Regions from separate parts of the Homo sapiens genome. Here region 1 is linked to region 2. The links are contacts of gene promoters, found by promoter capture Hi-C in blood cells and fetal thymus (Javierre and others, 2016). All regions are on one chromosome and are shown on one strand. The core of a region is centred on a gene start or on the middle of the fragment in contact, and the rest is flanking DNA. Distances in the headings are between cores, read along the strand shown.

Region 1 (5,538 bases), core at 1,408-3,907, 3.2 Mb after region 2:
GGTTTATTTATTTACTACATCCGTTGTGGCACTATAATGGCAGAGTTGAGTAGTTGTGAGGAGACTATAGGGTCTCTAGAACCTAAAATATTAGCTGTCTAGCTCTTTACAGAGAAAATTTATTGACTCCTGGATTGGCATGATGTTTTTGAGATTTGTCGTGTGTCATACATCAGTAGTTTTTCCCTTTTTATTGCTAAATAGTTGTCTGTTGTGCAGATATGCCACATTTCCATTTGTCGTTTGATGGACATTTAGGTAGTTTACAGTTTGAGGTCATTATAAATAATGCTGCTTTGAACATTCATGTGCAAGCCTTTTTGTGAACTTGTGTTTTCATTTTTCTTTGGTAAATACCTAGGAATACAAACTGTATAAGTTTAACTTTATAAGTAACTACTAAACTGTTTTTCAAAGTGGCTATCCCAGCAGTGGCAATGTATGTAGGTTCCAGTGCTTCTACCTCTTTGCTAACACTTGATAATGGAACTTTTTATTTCTAGTGGATGTGTAATGGTATCCTGTTGTGGTTTTAGTTTGCCCTTTCTAATGAGCACTCTTTCAAGTATTCTTGGCCATTTTTCTACTTTCTTTGTAAAGTGTCTCTTCAGATCTTTTTCCCATTTAAATTAGGTTGTTTCATTAGTGTTTTGTGAGAAATCTTTATGTATACAAATCCTTTATCAGATTAATAGTGTCTTGATGATCAGACATTTTAAAATTTAAAGACATTCAATTTAACATTTTCTTTTCTTCTTTGGTGAATTTTTTTGTGTGTGTGTTCTCTTTAAGAAACTTTCGCCTTCCCCAAAGTTTTTGTCTTACTTTTTCTAGAAATTTTAGTTTTCATTTGAGTAGTTATATCTGTGGTCCATTTTGAACAGTTTTTGTGTGCAGTTGATATAGGGACCCAGGTTAACTTTTTTCTTTTTCTTTTTAGCTTCCATACATTTTTTTTTTTTTAACTACATAAGTAGTTATTTCAGCATTATCTATTGAAAAGACTTTCCTTTCCCTGTTGTTTTGGTGCTTTACAAACGGCTGTGTATATGTGGATCTATTTCTGGATTTTATTCTCTTCCTTTGACCTATTTGTCCTTATTCCAACACAATACTCTCTATTTCTGTAGCTTTATAATGATTCTTGAAATTAGGTAGTGTGAATTCTCCAGTTTTGCTTTTCTAGGAAAATTTTGGCTTTTCTAGGTCCTTTGCATATTCATAAATTTTAGAATCAGCTTGCCAGTTTCTACAAGACAGCATCTTGGGATTTTGACTGGGATTGCATTAAATCTGTGGATCAGTTTGGAGAGAATTGACATCTTGACAATATTGAGTCTTAATCCATGAACACAGTATTCTTCATTTTATTTAGGTCTTTAATGTCTTAGCAGTATTTTATACTTGTCAATGTAGAGGCCTTTCGTGTCTTTTGTCAAATATATTTATAAACATTTTATGTTATTTGATGCTATTGTAAATATTTTTAGTTGCTTTATTTAGGCATAATGAAACACTGCATATATTTTAGATACGCAGTTTGATAAGTTTTGACATGTGCATACACTTATGTAACTGTCACTACAGTCAAGATAGTGAGTATAACCATTACCCTCAAAAGTTTCCTTGAGGCTCCTTGTAAGTGCTCCCTCCCATCACACCTCCAAGTAACCTCTGATTAGCATTTTGTTAGTATACATTAATTTTTTGTAGATTTGTTGGATTTTGTATGCGTATGTTCATGTTGTTTCTAAATAAAGAAAATTTTATTTCTTCCTTCCCAATTTGGATGACTTTTGTCTTTTCATTTCCTTTTTTTCTTTCCATTTTTTTTTTCCTTTTCTTTCCCCTCCTCTCCCCTCCACTTCTTTCTTTCCCTTCTTCCCTTCCCTTTTACCTTTCTTTTTCCTTTCCTTTTCTCTTCCCTTTTTCTTTCCCTTACCCCTCCTTTTTTCTTCCCCCATCCCCTTTCCCCCTTCACACCCAATTACACCAGCTAGAACCTTTAATACAATGTTACTAGAAGTGGGGAAGCAGAAATCCTCTTCTTATTACTCATTTTGCTGCTCATCTTAGATTGAGTCTTTCCTGTTAAGTTTGTTGTTAGCGATAGATTTTTTGTAAGTGCCCTTTATCAGGATGAGGAAGTTTGCATTCATTACACTTTGCTGAGAATTTTTATTACAGATGGACGTTGGATTTTGTCAAATGCTGTTTTCCCATCTGTAGAGATAAAAGTTTCTCTTCATTTATTCTTTTAATATGGTTAATTGCCTGGATTGATTTTTGAATGCTAAACAGACTTTATATTCCTAGAATAAACCATTCTTGGTCAGATGTATTATCCTGTTTTATATATTGGCTAGTATTTTGTGTGGGAAATTTTGCGTATATCTTAATGTGGTATTTTGTTTTCTAATTTTTTCCTGAGGATATCTTTGTCAATTGTGTTATTCGGCTTATGTCAAACTCAAAATTAGTTAAGGTATTTTCTCTTCCTATATTTTCTTAAAGAGTTTATGTACAATTTGTATTTTTTTTTTTTTTGAGACGGAGTTCTGCTCTTGTTGCCCAGGCTGGAGTGCAATGGCGCCATCTTGGCTCACCGCAATCTCTGCCTCCCAGGTTCAAGCGATTCTCCTGCCTTAGCCTCCCAAGTAGCTGGGATTACAGGCATGCACCACCATGCCTGGCTAATTTTGTATTTTTAGTTGAGATGGGGTTTCTCCATGTTGGTCAGGCTGGTCTCGAACTCCCGACCTCAGGTGATCCACCCGCCTCGGCCTCCCAAAGTGTTGGGATTACAGGCATGAGCCACCGCTCCTGGCCTGATCATTTTCTTAAATGTTTGATAGAATTTACTGTTAAACTACTAGGGCCTGAATTTTTTTTTTTGTGGCATTATTTTGTTTGAAAATGGATTCAGTTTGCTTCATAGAAATTGGGTTATTCAGATTTTCTAGTTATGTCTGTTTTGATTAAGTTGCATTTATCAAGTTGTTTCCTTTTTACTTTTTTAAAAAAACATTAAAACATTTCTTTAAAATTACATTTTCTATGCACATTTCTTCCTCAGAAAAAGTAACAAGGAGAATGGTACATAGTAAAAAAATTCTGAATACCTCATGGAATTGAGCATTTGAATAATAGAATATTCTAGTTACTTTTGATTTATTCTAGAGTTATATTTTCCAATGACTTAGGGCCTCATTAATTATATTAGGCTTTTGTGGAATAAAGCCTTTTTATAAACTTCACGTATAAATACAGGAGATGGAGGAAATTGGATCTTTTTTGGTGTATTTTGTTTTTATTTAAATAGATTTATTGAGTTTTTCTAACATTATTAAAAGCAGGATAGTGACTGCTTAGAAATTCTTTATCATCTCAGATTATTATGTAAAAAGTAGCCATGTTAAGGAAAAATGGTCTCTGAAAAGCCGTATCTTTCAAAAACACAATGTTTTTCTCCTTTATTTTTTAAGGCAAACAGTTTCGAATCTAAAGATTATCTCCAGGTTTGTCTTCGAATAAGACCATTTACACAGTCAGAAAAAGAACTTGAGTCTGAGGTTTGTGTTGAATTTAATAGAATTTTAATATTTTACTTTCATTTAAAATGGCAAAATACTAGTTTTTATTTATTGGGGGTATGTTTTCTAGGGCTGTGTGCATATTCTGGATTCACAGACTGTTGTGCTGAAAGAGCCTCAATGCATCCTTGGTCGGTTAAGTGAAAAAAGCTCAGGGCAGATGGCACAGAAATTCAGTTTTTCCAAGGTAAAACTGAAGTGTTTTTGTTTTTTGTTTTAAAGATAAAGAGACTTGGCTTAGGCTAAATTGCTATATAATTGTATATAATGAACTATACATTTTATGCTTATGCAACTTAGATTTTAAGGATAAGACTCAAATCTCAGGTCTGGAAATATATAATTGGATGTAAAGAGATCACTGTAGTGTTATTAAAGTTATTATTACTATATTTTTATTAAAGTTATTATTAATATATTTTTAAGAAATATTCTTTTCAAAACTTAGGTGAATACTTGATTCCCTGGTACAGATTTCTATCTTGAAAACTTTCTGGTAGTAAAACTATCAAATGTATTTGTGGGAGTGGGGATGTGGCACCTATTTTAAGAATGAATCTTTTAAATTTTTAAACAGTAGTGTTGGGATGGAACACACTATTAATATTAACTTGAATTTTCTAAAAAGAGTTTTTAAAAAATGTTTGCTTAGGTTTTTGGCCCAGCAACTACACAGAAGGAATTCTTTCAGGGTTGCATTATGCAACCAGTAAAAGACCTCTTGAAAGGACAGAGTCGTCTGATTTTTACTTACGGGCTAACCAATTCAGGAAAAACATATACATTTCAAGGTAAATATTGTTTTATTTTGGTTGGAAAGGATAAGGAAGCAATAATAATCACTCAGTGTTTTTATAATACATACATGTAGTTATGTTGCTATTACCTAGTATGCGTTTGCTCTATTTTTAATAGTACTAGCATATTATTACGTATTGCTGTTTTTTTTTTTTTTTGGCGGGGGAGGGACAGAGTCTCACTCTGTTGCCCAGGCTGGAGTGCAGTGGTGTGATCTCAGCTCACTACAACCTCTGCCTCCTGGGTTCAGATGACTCTCCTGCCTGAGCTGCTCAGCTTCCCAAGTAGCTGGGACTACAGGCGTGCGCCACCATGCCAAGCTAGTTTTTATATTTTTGTAGAAATGGGGGTTCACCATTTTGGCCAGGCTAGTCTCGAACTCCTGACCTCAGGTGATATGCCCACCTTGGCCTTCCAAAGTGCTTGGATTACAGGCAAGAGCCACCATGCCTGGCCTTGCTATTGGCTTTTAATTCAAATTTATTTAATTCATTTGTAAAAATACTTTACCCATTGATAGAGATTTAGATGATGATTAAAATCCAGAAAAAGTATTGATGTGATACAGAGAATTAAGCATAAATGACCAGAAGAAATTTTATATTTCATTTTACTTTTATAGTTTGTGATTATGGGTGGTTACAAATCTTAATATGGTTGCATTATCTGAATGTAAAGTTTCATGTTTACATCAGAATAATAGTCAATAAAATGTTGGTAATACTGTGAATAACAAAGTGATGGAAAACTGAGTAATCCTTAGCTATCATTTCCGTTTCAGTTGTTGACTCTTGCCTATTGGTAGTATAAAAGGAGCTTTAATAAACAAGTAAAGTTTCCTCTTTCCTAGTAGACTGAGAGAGTATAACACAAAAATTCCTTTTGCAGGGACAGAAGAAAATATTGGCATTCTGCCTCGAACTTTGAATGTATTATTTGATAGTCTTCAAGAAAGACTGTATACAAAGATGAACCTTAAACCACATAGATCCAGAGAATACTTAAGGTTATCATCAGAACAAGAGAAAGAAGAAATTGCTAGCAAAAGTGCATTGCTTCGGCAAATTAAAGAGGTATGGAAATATTTTAGTATGTAAAATATGTATAATTCCTGACTTCTTATAAACCCTTTAGATTGTTTCACCAT
Region 2 (6,476 bases), core at 3,579-6,078:
TCCCAGCTACTCGGGAGGCTGAGGCAGGAAAATGGCATGAACCTGGGAGGCGGAGCCAGCATGGGCGACAGCGAGACTCCTTCTCAAAAAAAAAAATCTATCAATACAAGTTGATACTGGCCCCAAACTAATCTCAATTTGGAATCAAGTTCAATTCTTTAAATGTCTCCACTCAATACCCCCTTAATCTTTCTGAACTAGTTTTGGCAGAGAGTCTACCATTGGTAACTAATCCTCATTTTAAATACTCATCTCATTTTCATTATCAATAACCATCCAAATCCTCCACAGTAATAGAAATGAGATACTTTGTGATCCTAACACAACAAAAAGAGATATTTCTTATTGGAATTGGGGTTATAAACTTATGACTGTTCCCAAAACGTACCCTGCGCAACAGTCTATAAATGTTAACATCCAAGTTGTTTATTTCAACCTCCAACTGGTTTCTTTAAAGTTCTTAAATGTCTTTTACAAAACTATCAATGGTCCCCATGTATCATAAGTGCAGAAAGAAAACACAATATATATTTTAGAATTTAAATCATTTAAATAAATTGGTTGCACAAAGCTCTCTTGGCGGAGAATAAAGAAAATCAAAACTTACCTGAAGTTATTAATTTATTACAGCTACTTATGCTTGCATCATCTTCTACAATTCGGTTTGTGCTCTTTTCTTTCCCAAGTAAAGTGTCCTCCAAAGGGAAGCATTTATCAGAAACGACAGTGTCTTCAACGACCACATGACTAATTTTGCTATTAGCTTCAAGTACTGAAGTGACCTCTTCCAACTGAGCAGCTTCACTAGATTCTGAATAAGAGGAACACTTAACCTGGGCTAAATTCTTTGAAGAAACTGGTAGAGACTCATCATCACTATCAAATCCAAAAGGATCTCCAGTACTTTCTTCTTCCACTTTAGGTTTCTTCGGAATTTCTTGGATATCTGGTTTGAAATTGGGCCTCTTCTGCCCTAATTTAGCCATAAATGTGGTCTCTCCCCATTTTGTGCTAAGGGTAGTCCGTTTGTTGGAAAAGACTTCATCGAATTTTGAACTGCCATTTCCACCTTTCCTACTGTATGTTTTCCCAAATCTGGATGTCATTTTGACACCAGTTTCATATTCTCTGTGAAAAAAAATTTAAGAAAACATATAATCATCAAATACAAGTGTTAAACAGTGCATATAAAAATAAAAACCTAGGGATTCTTCCCTCATGACTTTTGACACTCACCACACAGACTTTTAAATAAACAAATATGAGGAAGGGGTATAAAGAAAGGCTGATTTATTACCCTACATGCTTCCATGTCAATTTTCCTCCACAATGAGTACATATTCCTACGCTACTTACAAAGTAAAAAAACTTAATGATTAACCAACTTATAATACGATATCCATAAAGCTAACTTAAAATGAAGCATATTAAGTTCCAAATGAATTAATTTACTATTCTTATAAACATCATTTTTACCTTAAAAAATTATCTGTATAGAGGCTGGGAGGCCGAGGCAGGCAGCTCACTTGAGGCCAGGAGTTTGAGACCAGCCTGCCCAACACGGTGAAACCCCATCTCTACTAAAAATACAAAAATTAGCTGGGAGTGGTGGCACGCACCTGTAATCCCAGCTACTTGAGAAGCTGGAGCAGAAGAACCGCTTGAACTCAGGAGATGGAGGTTGCAGTGATATAATGATAACCTGTATAGGGTAATTACTTATATAAAATCTTAAGCACAGAATGTTAGTTTTTTTCAGGGCCTCAGAAATATCCAATACTTGATTAAATTTAGTTCTTTGAAATTTCATGGCACTAATTCACATGAGAAAAAAGGTCCCCAAAATGGTGCTTTTTCTCATGTTTTACAACCTGCAGCTTTTAACCCAATCTTGAAGATTCTGCTTCTTGGTGTAATGTAATTTGCGCTGTGACTTTAAAAATGTTCCTTAGATGGTCATCTCCCTAGGGAAAGAAACTATCCTTATCCTATCTGCCTTGTCCCGATAGTGCTGTGCTCATTTGCTGAGTTATATTTTCTGGGGCTAGTGAGCTCCAGCATATTACACTGTTTCATGGATTAATACAGACATAGAAACATACAACTTTTATTTTCCTTTTCAATTTATAAATGGCAAATCGATTCACCTGATTTATCTACTTCACAGGACAAAAAAAAAAATCTTTAGGGCAGTAAATCAAGAGTCAAACATTTTTTAAAACAAGTTACTTGCATTAGTTCTGTGCCTATTAAAAAGTTATAGTACTTTTTAAACATGATCAATCAGTAACCGTTTGTCTAACACTTTGACCTTTCTACAGTTCAAACATGAATACATCGAATATAACTTTAAAAAGTGAACAAGGGCCTAAGGAATGAAAAATCATTACTTTGAAAGCTACAAGAATTGAAATTATATTTGACCTATACTTTTGAATATGTTTTGATCTACACTTGTTTTCCCTTGATTAACTTAAATTCTTACCATTTATAATGAGTCACTGTCTGAGTTTTATATAAATTCAGTAGTAGACCCCCCCCCATGTTTGGTGAGAACCCAATTTTAATTTGACAAGGTAATAATTTAGTCATCATACATATCTGCGTTAAGAGAAAACAGTGTTCCTGAAGGAGATGTATTTCATCTTCCACTGCAGCTCTAACACTAACAAGTCTTACTGTCTTTCTTGTTAAGTACAGCCTAAACAAAACAGGATACTGGGCAACTACCACGGACAACAAAATAAAAATCGATTCTCTGTTCCTTCAAGAATGTAAAGCTGAGATCCTGCAGGTCTGTAAGTGTACGTACACATACACACCAACAAAGATGGAATGTTTTGGATTCACTTATGTGCTAATCATCTAAAAATACTAACCAAAGGCCAAACCAAAAATCTAGACTTGAGTTCCTTTATGCCAACATCAGAAAAACTGTTAAAATGGTTCTATAACCACAAAGCATTCACTGTTGAAAGTTTGAAGTCTTCAGATGAATACCTGACACTAAGGACTTAATTATTTTATGTGATAAAAAATAATTTTGTGCTGGCTGGGGGCGGCAGGTCACGCCTGTAATTCCAGCACTCTGGGAAGCCAAGACGGGCAGATCACCTGAGGCCAGGAGTTCGAGACCAGCCTGACCAACATGGAGAAACCACGTTTCTACTAAAAATAGAAAATTAGCCGGGCGTGGTGGCGCATGCCTGTAATCCCAGCTACTCCGGAGGCTGGGGCAGGAGAATCAATTGAACCTGGGAGGCGGAGGTTGCGGTGAGCTGAGATCGCGCCACTGCACTCCAGCCTGGGCAACAAGGGCGAAACTCCGTCTCAAAATAATAATAATAATGATAATAATAATTTTGTGCCAAAAGACCACGTCTTTTACAAATACATAGTGAAATACTGATGAAATAACGTCAGCGATTTTCCAACATTAAGGAATGAGAAGTGTATAGATGAAATAAATTTGTTTAATAGTCACTGCTAAATCCAAGCGATGGGTACAGAGAAGTTCATTATATAATATCTCCTCCTGATTGCCTTTATCGTTTCCCACAATAAAATGTCTTTGCAATGGCATTATCTAAGCGTAAAGCACTACAGATTCCAAAATAAGTGTGCAGACGTCCTTGAAGTTAAATTTTAAGTGTTTCAAGTACACAATCTTGCTCAACCTTTAAACTCCAAAGACTGTCCTAACTAAAAAGGAAAGAATGATTGACGACTAAGTCTTTTCGGTCGTTCGGCTTTTGCCCTAGCCCAAAATCAGGTCGAATTTTGAGAGAAGTGCGCTGTGATTTAAAAAAAAAAAAAAAAAAAAAAAAGCAAAAAGCCTTTATACTTCACTCCCACCCTAATCTAGCGTCTTCCCGATCCCCAAAGGCTTTAAGGGCTTCCATTAAAGATGGAAAGCGGACGGGACGAACCTGACTAACCAGAAATCCTCACCTGGGGACAGCCGGGGCGCCACGGGCAGTGGGCGCGATGGACCCCTCGGACTAGACACTCAATGCAACTTTTCTCCTCCCAACCCGCGCCGCCCAGGAAAGGGAGGTCACTTTCGACGCCCCGGAAGCCTCTGCCACCGAATCCTTAAGGCAGTGCAAGGCCCCAGTGGCGGCCAGAGGCGGATGAAACCACGGGAAAGGACTCGGGGCTGAAATCAACACACTTGACTGGGTTTGGGGAGCTAAGTCAATCAGCAGTCGCCCGAAAAAGAACTCCGAAAAAGGAAAATAAAAGGGGAAAAAAAGAGTTCCTCAGGTCATTCCCCTGCCCAACTTCCTCAGCGGCCCGGTGGGCGAGGCAGTGAGACTTCCACCGCCCGCTCCCAGCCTCTGCCTCCCCCACCCTCCCGGCTCCCTCCCGGCCTAGGCGGCCGCCCGACACCTCACTTACCCTCGGAGCCTGGCGGGTGCTTTGGCCACGGGCCGCCTCCGCCTCTCCCGCTCCCTACGGCCCGCGGGCGGGCGCGGAACCCTCGCGCGGGAGAGCAGGGCCGGCAGGTGAGAGCCGAGAGAGGCGAGGGACTCTGCTTTCGGTAAATAGGAAGCCCGGTTGGGGGGGCAGGAGCGGCGGCCCCGCAACTTCCCTCCCCGCCTCGAGCGCCGCCGGCCGGGCCCAGGCCTAGCTCTCGCTGGCCGCCACTGCTGGAGCTGGTAACAGAGCCTGCTGTGTGCCCCCGCTGGGCCGCCGCCGCCTCCTGCGCCGCCGCTTCCGCCGGTGAATGGTCAGTGCTGGAGTTTGAACAGGGCCCTGAACCATCTCAACGCCATTTGCGCTCCCGGCCCCCACCTCCTTCCTCCAACAGCCGCTCGCTCCGTCACTCCGCTTCCCACAGTCCCCGCGCGGCCGCCCGACCCCGCAGCCAATCGCGCAGCCGCTTACTCAAACCGCCGCGCAGGCGCTGCGCCCCGCATGCTCCGGCGCCCGCCATTGGCCCGGCCGCGGAGCCCGACGGGAGTTGTAGTCCAGGTCCGCGAGGTCGCGGGCCGAGGACCAGGCGCGGGAGCGGGAGCGGGCGACTGGCCGGGCCCTCCCGGTCTCGGCAGCCACTTCTAGCTCCCGGCCCAGCCGGGAGACGCAGGTGCCACGGAGATGGGCAGCCGGGCGGGTGGCGCAGTGCAGGCAGCTGTATCAATCGCTTCCCCTCCAGGGACCCGCCGGTGCCTGGGGACCGCGGGCTGTGCAGCTGTGCCGGGCCTGCGGAGGCCGCCGCCCGGGAGCTGGGAGGCAGGGGGCGCGTGGTCAAGAGCCGCCCTCGACCTGGCCTGGTCGGTCCTGGCCCGGCGTAGGTGACGATGGCGGGGACCGCGAGGCGCCGGACACCCGAGGCCACGAGCAGCGTCGCCCCTCGCTTTTTCGCGCCCCTCCAGCCCTGCAGTCCTTCCTCTAAGTCCGTCTGCCCCTCACCGATTGAAAGTGGCCCCGAGAATATTGGATGGTATTGAGCAATTATCATTAACTTTGTTGGGTGTGGTAACGGTAATGTGGTTATGGTTTTTTGTTTTTTTTTTTTTAAGACCTACTGATGTGTTGACAGAGTGATCTGGTGTCAGGACTGTAAAATACGCCTATGAAAACTGGGGGAGAGGAATAAAACAAGCTGGCAGAACGTTTTTCATCGTTGAAGCTGCGTGATGCGAGCATATGTGCTCATCATACAGTCTCTTTACTTGTGTATCTGAAATTTTCCATAATAAAAAGTTTAAAGAAGTGAACCAGCGATTGCCTCTAGGGAGGACAGTGAGGTGGCGGATGACGGGAGGAAGGAGTCTTAATTTTTCGCTGTACGCCTTTTTGTGCTATCTTAGGTTTTTCCCATTCAATGTGTTACCTAATTCAGAAAATTGGTAAGTTTTTTTTAAGGCTACCATGGGAAAACAGCGTTCTAAAGAGTAGCGCAACCAGTTCCCCCTAAGAGAGGTGCATGATTCGTCGGACTCCGACAGCCTTGGTGTTTGTTAGGCGGTTAATGGAGACCCACCTGGGAAATTAGAAAACTACTAATTGCTTTCAGTGAGAAGCCCGCCCTTCTCCCACAAATGGATAATTTGCTTTTAATGCACCCAGAAGTTATCCAGCTCCCTCCGGTATAATCGGGGAAACTCCAAATAAAGGAAAAATAGTTCAGAGACCCTGCAGCTCTTCCCAAGAGGAATTTAAGGTGGATTTTAGTGTGGTTGGATTGTTTTGCCTACCTGACTGCAGAATTTATATTCTGACATTTACAATTTCCTAAATACTGAATCAGTACTTTTTCTTGTTTCAAAATAAATCAACTTCTTCTGTAGTTTATATGAAAAACAAGTCCATGTCTTCCACTGTGGGTGGGATGCACATGACTGTTTTATTTGGGTCAGTTTTGTCTCTTTTTTTAATTGGCAGTTTAGGAACTTGTTTTTATCATTTTGTTTAAAGATCTTCTGGCAGAGGTGCAGGCTGCACTTACTATAATTATTTAGATGACAAGG

Evidence for each region. Contacts are between HindIII fragments. The CHiCAGO score rates a contact against its expected background, and 5 or more counts as called.
Region 1: a contact is called between a fragment that was not itself captured here and the fragment with the promoter of WAPL in region 2, in 1 of 17 cell types (naive CD8 T cells). The highest score is 5.1, in naive CD8 T cells.

What each region holds. Positions count from the first base shown.
Region 1 is chr10:89,705,682-89,711,219 of GRCh38, forward strand. It overlaps KIF20B (kinesin family member 20B), which reads left to right. Exons shown (of 33, transcript NM_001284259.2): 3 at 3,486-3,572; 4 at 3,664-3,780; 5 at 4,246-4,384; 6 at 5,280-5,464. Among named protein-coding and RNA genes, the nearest start is that of KIF20B, 6.9 kb to the left of the region's middle. The HindIII fragment of the contact is 5,889 bases long and covers 1-5,538 here.
Region 2 is chr10:86,516,964-86,523,439 of GRCh38, forward strand. WAPL (WAPL cohesin release factor) reads right to left here and starts at 4,829. Exons shown (of 19, transcript NM_015045.5): 1 at 4,402-4,829; 2 at 608-1,128. The coding sequence starts at 1,106. It overlaps WAPL-DT (WAPL divergent transcript), which reads left to right and starts at 4,984. Exons shown (of 2, transcript NR_186498.1): 1 at 4,984-5,446; 2 at 5,546-6,476. RefSeq lists silencers at 4,323-4,742, 4,883-5,442. The HindIII fragment of the contact is 16,574 bases long and covers 1-6,476 here.